Linked DNA regions of Homo sapiens: region 1 is linked to region 2. The links are contacts of gene promoters, found by promoter capture Hi-C in human tissues and cell types (Jung and others, 2019). All regions are on one chromosome and are shown on one strand. Each heading gives the region's core, a stretch centred on a gene start or on the middle of the fragment in contact. The rest is flanking DNA. Distances are from core to core; before and after follow the strand shown.

Region 1 (6,191 bases), core at 1,827-4,326, 200 kb after region 2:
TTAATATATCTCCAAATTTTTAATATAAGCATGCATTTAAATATCTACCTGTACACTATTATAATAACAGCCTTTAAAAAAAATAGCATAAGGGGCTGGGTGTGGTGGCCCACAGCTGTAATCCCAGCACTTTGGGAGACCAAGGCCATGGGCGGATCACTTCAGCCTAGGAGTTTGAGACCAGCCTGGGTAATATAGGGAAACCCTGTCTCAACAACAACAACAACAAATTAGCCATATATGGTGGTGCGGGCCTATAGTCCCAGCTATTTGGGAGGCTGAGGCTGGAGGATTGCTGGAGCCTGGAAGGCAGAGGCCACAGTGAATTGAGATAACACCACTGCTCTCCAGCCTGGGTGACAGAGTAAGACCCTGTCTCAAAAAAAAAAAGTATATATATATATATATATATATATATATATATATATATATATATACACACATACCATAATGGATAATAGAGTACTCAGAATCAAATGGACCCAGTACCACCACTACCTGTATGACCACAGGCAGGTCACCCCAACTTCTCTGTGTCAAATCAGGAAAATAATAGTATCTGGCTCATGGGGTTGCTGGGAGGAATAAATATGATAATTCATGTAAAATCCTCACATAGTGCCTGGAATTATTAAATGCTCAACAACTGTTACCAAGTATATTTTTAAAAAGAATAACATGCCATAAATCCATCATGCCAATATTTTAAATTTTATTTTGCATTTCCTTCCCTTTGTTCACAAAAATTATTTACATGATTACAAGAGTATATATATGATTTTGAATGCTGCTTTATAACTTTCTGTGTTGATATGATAGTTTGTTTATTTATTTATTTATCTTGAGACAGGGTCTCACCCTGTCACCCAGGCTGGAGTGTGGTGGTGCAATTATAGCTCACTGCTACCTCCGCCTCCTGGGCCTCAGGTGATCCTCCCACCTCAGCCTCCTGAGTAGCTGGGACCACAGGTGTGAGCCACTGCACCCAGCTAATTTTTTTTTTTTTGAGATGGAGTTTCACTCTTGTTGCCCAGGCTGGAGTGCAATGGCATGATCTCAGCTCACTGCAACTTCTGCCTCCCAGGTTGAAGAGATTATCCTGCCTCAGCCTCCCGAGTAGCTGGGATTACAGGCACCTGCCACTATGCCTGGCTAATTTTTGTATTATGAATAGAGGCAGGGTTTCACCATGTGGCCCAGGCTGGTCTCAAACTCCTGGGCTCAAGTAATCAACTCAGCTTGGGCTCCCAAAGTGCTAGGATTCCAGGCATGAATCACCGCTCCCAGCAGCAGTCTGTATAAGTTTTAGTAGCTCGGCAAGTCCAGTGTTTTACTTTTCTGTATCTCCATTATCTATTGCTTTATTCCAACTATTGCTTCTAACTTTCATGACTTCCTTTCCATAGCTGCCTTGTCTGCATGTGCCTGCCTTTATTTTTTGCTTTCAATGTTCTATAAAGAACATTTCTAAGAGTTAATCACCCATTATCCCATCTCCCAACGTTTTCCATCTTTTTGTTCCATATGCATATGCCGTTTTCAATAGTTTCACTGTCAATGATCTTCAGATTGAGCGCTCTCTGTCAAGCATCATGAATGCGTCAGGCAGCTTTGACCTTTCATCACCTGCCTCACAACTTCATTGAACCCGAGACTCTACCCTGCAGAATGCACTTCTAGATGGATTTTTTCTGGGCTGGCATTGTGAGTATTTCAGGGTCAGGGTGACCGTACCTCCTACCTCTGATGGCTGCACAATGACACAAAGGCAGGAATCCCAAACCTCACCCTTAGACACGGTAGCCGGTAATGACCTTTAAACTTAATCTGTATCCTGGTTAAATCTTTTGGCCCCTCATTTCCTACCCCTCTAAAATGCAAAGTGTAAGCTTGCCATTCATTTTCTGGGATCCTAAGAAGCCATGAGATGCAGGAGCCTGTTAGCCTGGCCTCTGGCCTCCCAGGAGAATCATTACCTGCCCCGCCACTCCTCATCCCCAAGAGCGTCTCTCTTACTCTTTAAATATTTTGGAAAGATTCTTTAAATCTTTTTTTTTTTCCTGAGATGGAGTCTTGCTCTGTCACCCAGAGCTAGAGTGCAATGGGGCAATCTTGGCTCACTGCAACCTCAGCCTCCTGGGTTCAAGCAATTCTCCTGCCTCAGCCTCCTGAGTAGCTGGGATTACAGGCTCGTGCCACCATGCCAAGCTAATGTTTATATTTTCAGTAGAGACAGATTTCACCATGTTGGCCAGGCTGGTCTTGAACTCCTGATCTCGTGATCTGCCCACCTCGGCCTCTCAAAGTGCTGGTATTACAGGCGTGAGCCACCGCGCCCAGCCAAGATTCTTTAAATCTTAATAGATACAGGAAGGCTAACAAGACATAGAAAACATCAAATGCTTCAGAAAAAAAATGTGGTTCACAAGCAGGAGGAATCTGCATGCTTTGTTATCTGAGATAAGGAAGAATGGGACCAGTGTGAAGGCAGCTCTGATACCAAGCCACCCGGCCACTTAGCTCCATTGCTTCTCCCAGATTTTTGTTACGATATGCTACAGAGTTAATTGATGGGACATTTCTTTCTGCTTTCACATTGAAGAAATGACTAATGACATTAAAATGGGGTGGAACGTGAAGCCAGAGAGCTATGTCTGGGGATTTTACAGCTTTGGTAATCCCCAATATACCAACTATAGCAGATGGACACAAACAAGGGAGTCTCCCTCCTAACTCTCAGCTGTAAGCCTTCCCCTTGCATTGCACTGGGATGCTATGATTTTACCTTAGTCCCTCAGTTGTGCCCTATACATATCTCTCCCAGTACTTTTTTAAGCCTGTTCAAACGATTGGGTCTTTGTTGCTGTTCCACATTAAGAACAAAACTCCTTTCCTCATGAGCCTCATTCATTTCAATTTCACTGTTTTCTGAGCTCCCACTGACTGTGGTTCCCAGGTGCATGAAAAGCACTGCGATATTCCAGGAATATCCTCCTGTACTGCAGCCTCAAGAGACACTCTCATTTCCTTGTTCTCTGCAGTAATGTTTCTGAGTATTTAACACAACGTGTTTCAATTTACTCCTAATTTTACCCTCCTCTAGGTCGTCCTGCCTTCTAGGTTTCCCCTGCCTGGGAAATCTTTCTCTAATACTATTTTGCCTTGGATGGAGGATGATTTTTCACAGATACCACATTTGCCAGCACACTTAGGGGGCCACTCGATAGCAAAGTAGCAGAGGGTTGAGTGAGTTGTTTTTTTTTCTTTTTTTGAGATGGAGTCTTGCTCTGTCACCCAGGCTGGAGTGCAGGGGTGCTGTCTCGGCTCACTGCAACCTCCACCTCCCGGGTTCAAGTGATTCTCCTGCTTTAGCCTCCCAAATAGCTAGGACTGTAGGCACGTGCCACCATGCTCGGCTAATTTTTTGTATTTTTAGTAGGGACGAGGTCGTGATCCGCCCGCCTCAGCCTCCCAAAATGCTGGGATTACAAGCATGAACCACCGCGCCTGGCCTGAGTGAGTTTTTTGTAGGATCCTCTGGTCTTAAATACTTGGTCTTAAAGTTGGATGTTCACTTGTGGGTGGAGGAGGGGGACCCTGTGACCCAGGCCCCTCTCAGCCCCATGCATGCCTCTGACTTCAGACAGAACTGGAAGTCGAATGAACGGGAGGAGGAAAAGGATGGAAAAGCCATTTGGCTGGGGACAGGAGGCATAAAGTGTGTTGGGGAGAGGGACAAATCTCATTTGAAGGGCTCTAGGCTTCCAGAACCTGAAGGAAACAGTTTCTGAAGATGTTTGGCTTCAAGGAAGATGAGTTCACAGGAAGTCTTTTTTTGGCTGCTCGCTAGATTCTCATTCAAGAATTTACACAATGAAGTTAGAAAAACAGACCTGCTGAATCCATGCTAAACTCTCCCTGGGTTTAGCTGCCTACCTGAAAATAGCAACAGGGGAATGTGGCTTTCTCTGAATCACGTACTGCAAGAGTAACACCGGGTCACCAGATGCTGCTGAAGTCACAAACAGGCCCTGTTACTATTAGCAGCCGAGACGTAAGCTGAATGCTGGTCAACAGTGATGTTCTGTTTAGTAGGATGCTGAGATGAGGCGATTCTAAGTTTGAGAGGACGCTGGCCCATTATCCTGCAGTATAGTCATCACCAGACAAAAGTCCATCTCACTGTGGCTCATGAAATATTAATGAAGAGCTAGAATTACTTGCACTGACTTCAGCACAAATAGACCAAAAAATCAAATCAAAGCTCTATTTCCACTATGTTTGATACAGAAAGCCAACAGTTTAGTAGCTGGTGGATTTTTGTGGAAATTCTAAACTTTGCTTCCAGGCAAATCTATGGGTTTTCAAAAATTTCTGTCTTTTGGTTTTATTGTCTGACTATTTGGGTTTTATTGTCTATTTTAAGAAAAAGCTGGTCCATTGTTTTCTAGTAGGGGAAGTCAACTGGAAGCTTAATAGTAACAAAAGACTTTTGAATTATAATTACTTCCAGATGGATGCTTACAGATGTCCTCATCTTTTAAAAAACCACTTAAGCATCTTACCATCTGTTTTTCAGTGACTTATCATGGAAATCTTTACACTTTTGTTTATATAGCCGTTGCCAAATGTGTAAGCCCCAGGAGGTTTTAAGCCAGTGAAGGCTTTAAGACTATAATAAGAGTGTCTTTCTCTTCTCTTCTGCCATTACTAAATGAACATCCTATATAACTCAACTTTTACAATGGCCTTTTGGGAAGTATTAGAAAGAAGAGAGTATGATATGAAGGAAATAAATAAATTATGTATGTTTTTATTTGTTCTTTCCTAATGTCAGCCAACAACGAAGGACCATTTTGTAAGTACTGATTGAAATCTTTATTAAGAGCTTTGCTTATCCCAGGAAATAGTGGCATTCTCAAGAAAATTGCAGCTGGGGTGCATTCCCAGTGATAACTTGGCCCAGGGCACCTCTGAAAGTATTAAACACTTGGGAAAATCTTTGTCTGTGGGGCTGCTTTAGGGACTCTTCAAATGGCTGAGGAATATATGAGGCCATCATTAATGGTTTGCATGAGAATGGCCAGCTATTTACTGTTTCCCAGCAAGGAGCAGGCTCCCTAATGAGAATTTCTGCGTAGTTATTGCAAATTATAGAAAAAAACAGCCAAATCACTTACATCATAGAAAAATTAATGTCAAAAATCAAAGTTGTGGCCAGGTGTGGTGGCTCACGCCTGTAATCCTAGCACTTTGGGAGGCCAAGGCAGAAGGATCACTTGAGGTCAGGAGTTCGAGACCAGCCTGGCCAACATGGCGAAATCCCATCTCTACTAAAAATATAAAAATTAGCCAAGTGTGGTGGCAGGCACCTGTAATCCCAGCTACTTCAGCTACTTGGGAGGGTGAGGCAGGAGAATCACTTGAACCTGGGATGCGGAGGTTGCAGTGAGCAGAGATCACACCACTACACTCCAGCCTGGGTGACAGAGTGAGACTTGGTTAAAAAAAAAAAAAAAAGCAAAGTTATTATCTCCCCAGACAAAGCTACCCCTTCTTGTTTTTTCTCTCTTGGTAAGCAGTGTTACTATCTCTCCAGTTGTTCAAGAAAACTCATCATCCTCAACTCCTCCCAATCCTAACTCCTGGCAAAGGCAAAGGCAATCTGTCTCCCAGCATGCCTCTCACATCTGCCCTGTTCTTCTCCACGTGATATGGCCCTAGTTAACATCTCAGGTCTGGATAATGGTGGAGGTCTCCCAGCCACTCACTCTGCCTCCATTCTCACCTTGGATAAAAGGTAAAATTCTGGTAGGAGCTGTAAGAAGACCGCAAATACCCTTCTTCCCTCTATGGTCTTTCTGCTCTGCTTCTCCTTCTGAAGCAGCATCTAGTGCTGAGACTTGGTAGGGAGGGACCTGGCTTTAGGGTGAGTGTGCTTTTCTTGGGAAATACCTTTCATTGTGAAAGGTGGGGTAGGCAAGGCCAAGGGACAGAAGAACAAGTTCCCTGATGCTGCTTGGCTCAGGCTGGGAAGAAGCATGGAGAGTGCTGAGCTGTGTAAGTGACATCACCAAGGCTGCAGAGCTGGCAGAGATCCTGGGCAGAAACCAGTTTGCTCTTTGTGGCTTCCTGGGTGCCGTCTCCTGTCAGGGACCTAACTGCTGTGGAAGGTGGCTGGCTGGGGTGCA
Region 2 (6,094 bases), core at 2,498-4,997:
GTTTATTAAGAAAGTAAAGAAATAAAAGAATGGCTACTCCATAGCTGGTTGCCCATTTTTATGGTTATTTCTTGATGTTATGCTAAACAAGGGGTGGATTATTCATGCCTCCCCTCTTTAGACCATATAGGGTAACTTCCTGACATTGCCACAGCACTCGTAAACTGTCATGGCGTTGATGGTGTGTCCAGCATTGGTGGGTTCTTGGTCTCACCGACTTCAAGAATGAAGCTGCGGACCCTCGCGGTGAGTGTTACAGTTCTTAAAGATGGTATGTCTGGAGTTTATTCTTTCTGGTGGGTTCCTGGTCTCACTGGCTTCAGGAGTGAAGCTGCAGACCTTCGCAGTGAGTGTTATAGCTCTTAAAGGCACTGCGGACCCAAAGAGTGAGCAGCAGCAAGATTTATTGCAAAGAGCAAAAGAACAAAGCTTCCACAGTGTGTAACGGGACCCGAGTGGGTTGCCACTGCTGGCTCAGGCAGCCTGCTTTTATTCCCTTATCTGGCCCCATCCACATCCTGCTGATTGGTCCATTTTACAGAGAGCTGACTGGTCCATTTTGACAGGGTGCTGACTGGTGCATTTACAATCCCTGAGCTAGACACAAAAGTTCTCCAAGTCCCCACTAGATTAGCTAGACACAGAGCGCTGATTGGTGCATTTACAAACCTTGAGCTAGACACAGGGTGCTGATTGGTGTGTTTAACAAACCTTGAGCTAGACACAGAGTGCTGATTGGTGTTATTTACAATCCCTTAGCTAGACATAAATATTCTCCACGTCCCCACCAGATTAGCTAGATACAGAGTGCTGATTGGTGCATTTACAAACCTTGAGCTAGACACAGAGTGCTGATTGGTGTATTTACAATCCTTTAGCTAGACATAAAGGTTCTTCAAGTCCCCACCAGATTAGCTAGATACAGAGCGCTGATTGGTGCATTTACAAACCTTGAGCTAGACACAGGGTGCTGATTGGTGTGTGTACAATCCTCTAGCTAGACATAAAAGTTCTTCAAGTCCCCACTAGACTCAGGAGCCCAGCTGGCTTCACCTAGTGGATCCTGCACTGGGGCCGCAGGCAGAGCTACTTGCCAGTCCCACGCCGTGGGCCTGCACTCCTCAGCCCTTGGGCGGTCGATGGGACCAGGTGCCGCGGAGCAAAGGGAGGTGCTGGTCAGGGAGGCTTGGGCCACGCAGGAGCCCACGGCGGGGGCGGGGGAGGCTCAGGTATGGCGGGCTGCAGGTCCTGAGCCCTGCCCCGCGGGGAGGCGGCTGAGGCCCGGGGAGAATTCCAGCGCAGTGAGGGCGGGCCCACAGTGCCGGGGGACCTGGTGCCCCCTCCGCAGCTGCTGGCCCAGGTGCTAAGCCCGCCGAGCCCACGCCCACCCGGAACTTGCTCTGGCCCCGGTTCCCACGGACACCTCTCCCTCCACACCTTTCTGCAAGCAGAGGGAGCTGGCTCTGGCCTGCGCCAGCACAGAGTGGCTCCCACAGTGCAGCGGCGGGCCGAAGGGCTCCTCAAGTGTGGCCAGAGCAGACACCGAGGCCGAGGAGGTGCTGAGAATGAGCGAGGACTGCTAGCGCGTTGTTATCTCTCAATGAGAGTGCAGTAGTGAGGATGACCAGAGTTCACTCTCATTGCCATCTTAGTTTTGGTGGGTTTTGGCCGGCTTCTTTACTGCATCCTGTTTTATCAGCAAGATCTTTATAAGCTATATTTTGCGCTGACGTTCTATCTCATCCTGTGACTTAGAATGCCTTAACCGTCTGGGAATGCAGCCCAATAGGTTTCAGCCTTACTTTACTCAGCCCCTATTTAAGATGGAGTTGCTCTGGTTCACACGCCTCTGACACTGGTTACCGTGTGAAAGAAATGGAGTGTTGTTTTTTTTACAGCTTTCTTCCGAACCTTACTCTCTAAGGATGGTATCCAGTATGTCCTTTTTTTTTTCAGATGGAGTCCTGCTCTGTTGCCCAGGCTGGAGTGCAGTGGTACTATCTTGGCTCACTGCAAGCTCCGCCTCCTGGGTTCATGCCATTCTCCTGCCTTAGCCTCCCGAGTAGCTGGGACTACAGGCAACCACCACCACACCCAGCTAATTTTTTTTTTTTTTTGTATTGTTAGTAGAGACGGGTTTTCACCGTGTGAGCCAGGATGGTCTCAATCTCCTGACCTCGTGATCCGCCCACCTCGGCCTCCCAAAGTGCTGGGATTACAGGTTTGAGCCACTGCGCCCGGCCTCCAGTATGTCCTTCACTGAATTGTAAACTTCTGAAGGTCAGGGCATTTTGGCTTTAAGTGTTTCTATCTTGTGCTCTCTTCCAGATCTTACCATGTAGTTGATATGCAACACATTTGTTGAGTAACTACATTTTAGGCCATAAAGGCACCTGTGCAGAAAAGGGCAGTCTAGTCTCATGCTTATGTGTCCAGAGTTGGTTCCTTCCGGTGGGTTCATGGTCTCGCTGACTTCAAGAATAAAGCTTGTCACCTTCGTGGTGAGTGTTACAGTTTTTTTTTTTTTTTTTTTTTTTTTTTGAGACAAGGTCTCTCTCTGTCTCCCAGGCTGGAGTGCAGTGACGCGATCTCAGGTCACTACAAGCTCTGCCTCTCAGGTTCACGCCATTCCCCTGCCTCAGCCTCCCAAGTAGCTTGGACTACACGACCGGCCAATTTTTTTTTTTTGTATTTTTAGTAGAGACGAGGTCTCACCGTGTTAAGGCAGGATGGTCTCGATCACCTGACCTCCTGATCCACCCGCCTCGGCCTCCCAAAGTGCTGGGAGTGTTACAGCTCTTAAAGGTCCCACAGACCCAAAGAGTGAGCAGCAGCAGCAAGATTTATTGTGAAGAGTGAAAGAACAAACTTTCCACAGTGTGGAAGGGGACCCAGGGCTGCCACTGCCAGCTAGGGGATGGGGGGCGTGGCCAGCTTTTATTTCCTTATTTGTCCCGGCCCAAGTCCTGCGGATTGGTCCACTTTACAGAACACTGATTAGCCCGTTTTACAGGGTACTGATTGGTGCATTTTACAAACCTCTAGCTAGCCACAAAGTGCTGATTGGTGCATTTTACAATCCTAGCTACAGAGTGCTGTTGGTACATTTTACAATCCTCTTGTAAGACAGAAAAGTTCTCCAAGTCCCCAACCGACCCAGAAGACCAGCTGGCTTTACCTCTCACTTAAACCTGTACTGTGTCAATATCCGTACATCAGTAAGTGTTGTCGATCAAGTTAGGGAAGTAGTGGATTTCTGGTGACAAATGTTACCCTTTCCAACTAAAGTTTAAAGAAGGTAAGTTGAACCCAAATCTACATACTGCTGTAGCCCCAAACGGAAATACTGCAAAAGCTCCATCAACGTCTCCCAGTCCATCCAGACTTTTACAAATGGATAGACCCCGGCCGCAGGAAACCAAGGAGCACCTGGGGTTGGGTTGGGTGAATTGGCTCTGGGGCTCATTCTTTTCACTACAGCGCCAGAAAAGCAAAAACCTAAACCAAGACCCAAGAGACCAGCCCTCAGCCTGCACCTGAGAGCACATTTTCCCTAGCCAGCACTGAGCATGCGCAGGCTGCGTGGTGTGGCGAAAGCGCAGCCAGGTCCGCGCTGCCGCCGCAGCCAATCGGAGGGAGGGAGCCGCCCGGACATTGTGAGGTGCCGAGGGAGGGGCGGCGGGCGAGGGGCAGGGCAGGGCGGACCCTGGACGCGCGGGCGCGCGCGGAAGGTAGCGCGGGGCCGCGTTGGCGCGCACGCGCCTGAGCGTGCGCCCGGTGGGGCCGGCCGGGACTCGCCGCTCGCACGCCCTTGGGCCGCGGCCGGGCGCCCGCTCTTCCTTCCGCTTGCGCTGTGAGCTGAGGCGGTGTATGTGCGGCAATAACATGTCAACCCCGCTGCCCGCCATCGTGCCCGCCGCCCGGAAGGCCACCGCTGCGGTGAGTGGCGTAGGCGTGGGCTCGGAGGGGTCCACTGGGCCGGCCACCGGTGGTTGCCCCTCGCGCGGGGTGGGCGTTGCGGGCGCGTGGCGGCCTGCGGACGAGGACGCTCCTCCCGGCCCGGGTGGGGTGCGAATGGTCCGCGCGGCCGGGTCCGCGGGGGGCGGGGGCAGCCGGGGGGTCACAGCCGGCGCGAGGGCCAGTCCCCAGCTCCTCCCTGCATTGCGGAGGAAGTGTGGCCCCGGGACCCCCGCGGGCCGGCCTAGGGCACGGCGTCAGCCTCTGCAGCGTGTTTCTGCCTGGTGTGTGGGTGAGGGAAACCTAAGTCCGCCAGGAAATCGCCTTATTGTCACCTCGCACTCTTATCCTCAATGAAAGAAGTTTGAAGATTGAGTGTCCTACAAGGTCAGACGTACTGTTTTTTAGAAAACTCGTGTATGAAAAGTCAAACTTATTTTTGCCTCCGGAAGCTTGCTTTTGCAGTGGAAAAATTCTACAGGATATGTGAGATGTTCCTGATTTCACTTGAAAGAGATAAACTGTTTTTCTTAGAATGTGATCATTTGCACTCAATGTCTAACTGGGACCTCTCAGTGCTACCCCCCCCCCATTCATTATCTCAGGAAATAAAGGGAGAAGTTGATCAGAATTTTTGCCATTTAAAAGAGGTCGATAAAGATTAAGTCGCCGAAGATAGTGTTGTGTAATTCTCTCGTAGGTTTCGTTCCGTTTTCCACCTTAAGCAAAGCTAGTGTGTAACAATCCTGTGTGGGCTTATTTAGGCATTGCTTATTAATTTTCCTCTTCTCTTATAGGTGATTTTCCTGCATGGATTGGGAGATACTGGGTAGGTACCATTATTATTAATAGTAACAGTAATGAAACTGGGTCATGCAACTTTTGTTTACGCGTTCAAAGGTTTAATGTTTAAGGGCGCTAAAATGGTATTTTAAGATTGCCAGTTAATGTATCTTACAGTGCGGTGATTTTATGTTTTGAAAACCCTCAGAATTTTCCCCTTATCATCGTGAGTTTATTGATTTTTTAACTCTGGTTTCTGGAACATATTAAAATTTCAAATTCCTCATTAGTTGCTTTGGGTATTGGATACCAGAGATCCGTGGAATGTTAGTAGGGACGGTGTGCAATTGAGAGCTTTCCAGAGCAGTTAAAATTTCAGAGCAGATTGAAGAGAAGAACTAGTTGATTTTGATAAGAGAACTAGTGGCAACATAAGGCATGCAGCATTCTGAATAGAGGGATTAGATGTTCACTCTAATGAGTTGAAAGGCAGGGGAGGCAACTCAAAGATTTATTTGGAGGCTTATCAAACAATTTGTTGTACTAACTACTTATTTTTATTTTATTTTTTGTTTGTTTGCTTTTTTCTTTTGTTATTATTTTTAGAGACAAGGGCTCTCTCTGTCGCCCAGGCTGGAGTGCAGTTGCAGGATCTTAGCTCACTGCAGCTTTGAACTCCTGGGCTCAAGTGATCCTTCAGCCTCAGCCTCTCAAAGCACAGAGATTAGAGGTGGGAGCTGCCTGAGCCTGGCCTTTTGTACTAACTTTAGATACATGATTTATCTTTTACTCAAGCTTTTTCTATATTGAGATGTTTTTGTTTTTATATTTAAATTGGTGATAATCTGTGAAACTTAAGCAAAATATGAATGTTGTTGAAAAATTGCAGAAATAGAGGAAAACTGAAGATAAATAAATTTTGATAAAGTAGCCCCAGAACGACTAAATTTTCTTTAAAATGAACCATTGGGGCCGGGCGCGGTGGCTCACACCTGTAATCCCAGCACTTTGGGAGGCCGAGGTGGGTAGTTCACTTGATGTCAAGAGTTCGACACCAGCTTGGCCAATATGGTGAAACCCCATCTCTACTAAAAATATAAAAATTACCCGGGTGTGGTGGTGCATGCCTGTAATCCCAGCTGCTAGGGAGGCTGAGAGAAGAGAATCACTTGAACCTGGGAGGCAGAGGCTTCAGTGAGCCAAGATTGCACGACTGCACTCCAGCCTGGGCCACAGAGTGAGACTCAAAAAAAAAAAAAATGCCATTAGGCTAGATTTTTGTTTGTTTGTTTGGAGACAGGGTCTGCTGTGTTGCCCTGGCTGGAGGGCAGTGGCGTGATCTTGACTCACTGCA

The links. Contacts are between HindIII fragments. The study calls those that stand out against the background at their distance.
Region 1: a fragment that was not itself captured here is called in contact with the fragment with the promoter of LYPLA1 in region 2 in 1 of the 25 tissues and cell types used here (hippocampus).

The regions. Positions count from the first base shown.
Region 1 is chr8:53,903,456-53,909,646 of GRCh38, reverse strand. All of the region lies in intron 1 of RGS20 (regulator of G protein signaling 20), which reads right to left. Among named protein-coding and RNA genes, the nearest start is that of RGS20, 26 kb to the right of the region's middle. RefSeq lists an enhancer at 5,993-6,042. The HindIII fragment of the contact is 5,266 bases long and covers 444-5,709 here.
Region 2 is chr8:54,099,600-54,105,693 of GRCh38, reverse strand. LYPLA1 (lysophospholipase 1) reads left to right here and starts at 3,747. Exons shown (of 9, transcript NM_006330.4): 1 at 3,747-3,939; 2 at 4,755-4,786. The coding sequence starts at 3,871. It overlaps LYPLA1-TCEA1 (LYPLA1-TCEA1 readthrough), which reads left to right and starts at 3,747. Exons shown (of 21, transcript NM_001425842.1): 1 at 3,747-3,939; 2 at 4,755-4,786. RefSeq lists a silencer at 3,624-4,193. The HindIII fragment of the contact is 3,514 bases long and covers 1,459-4,972 here.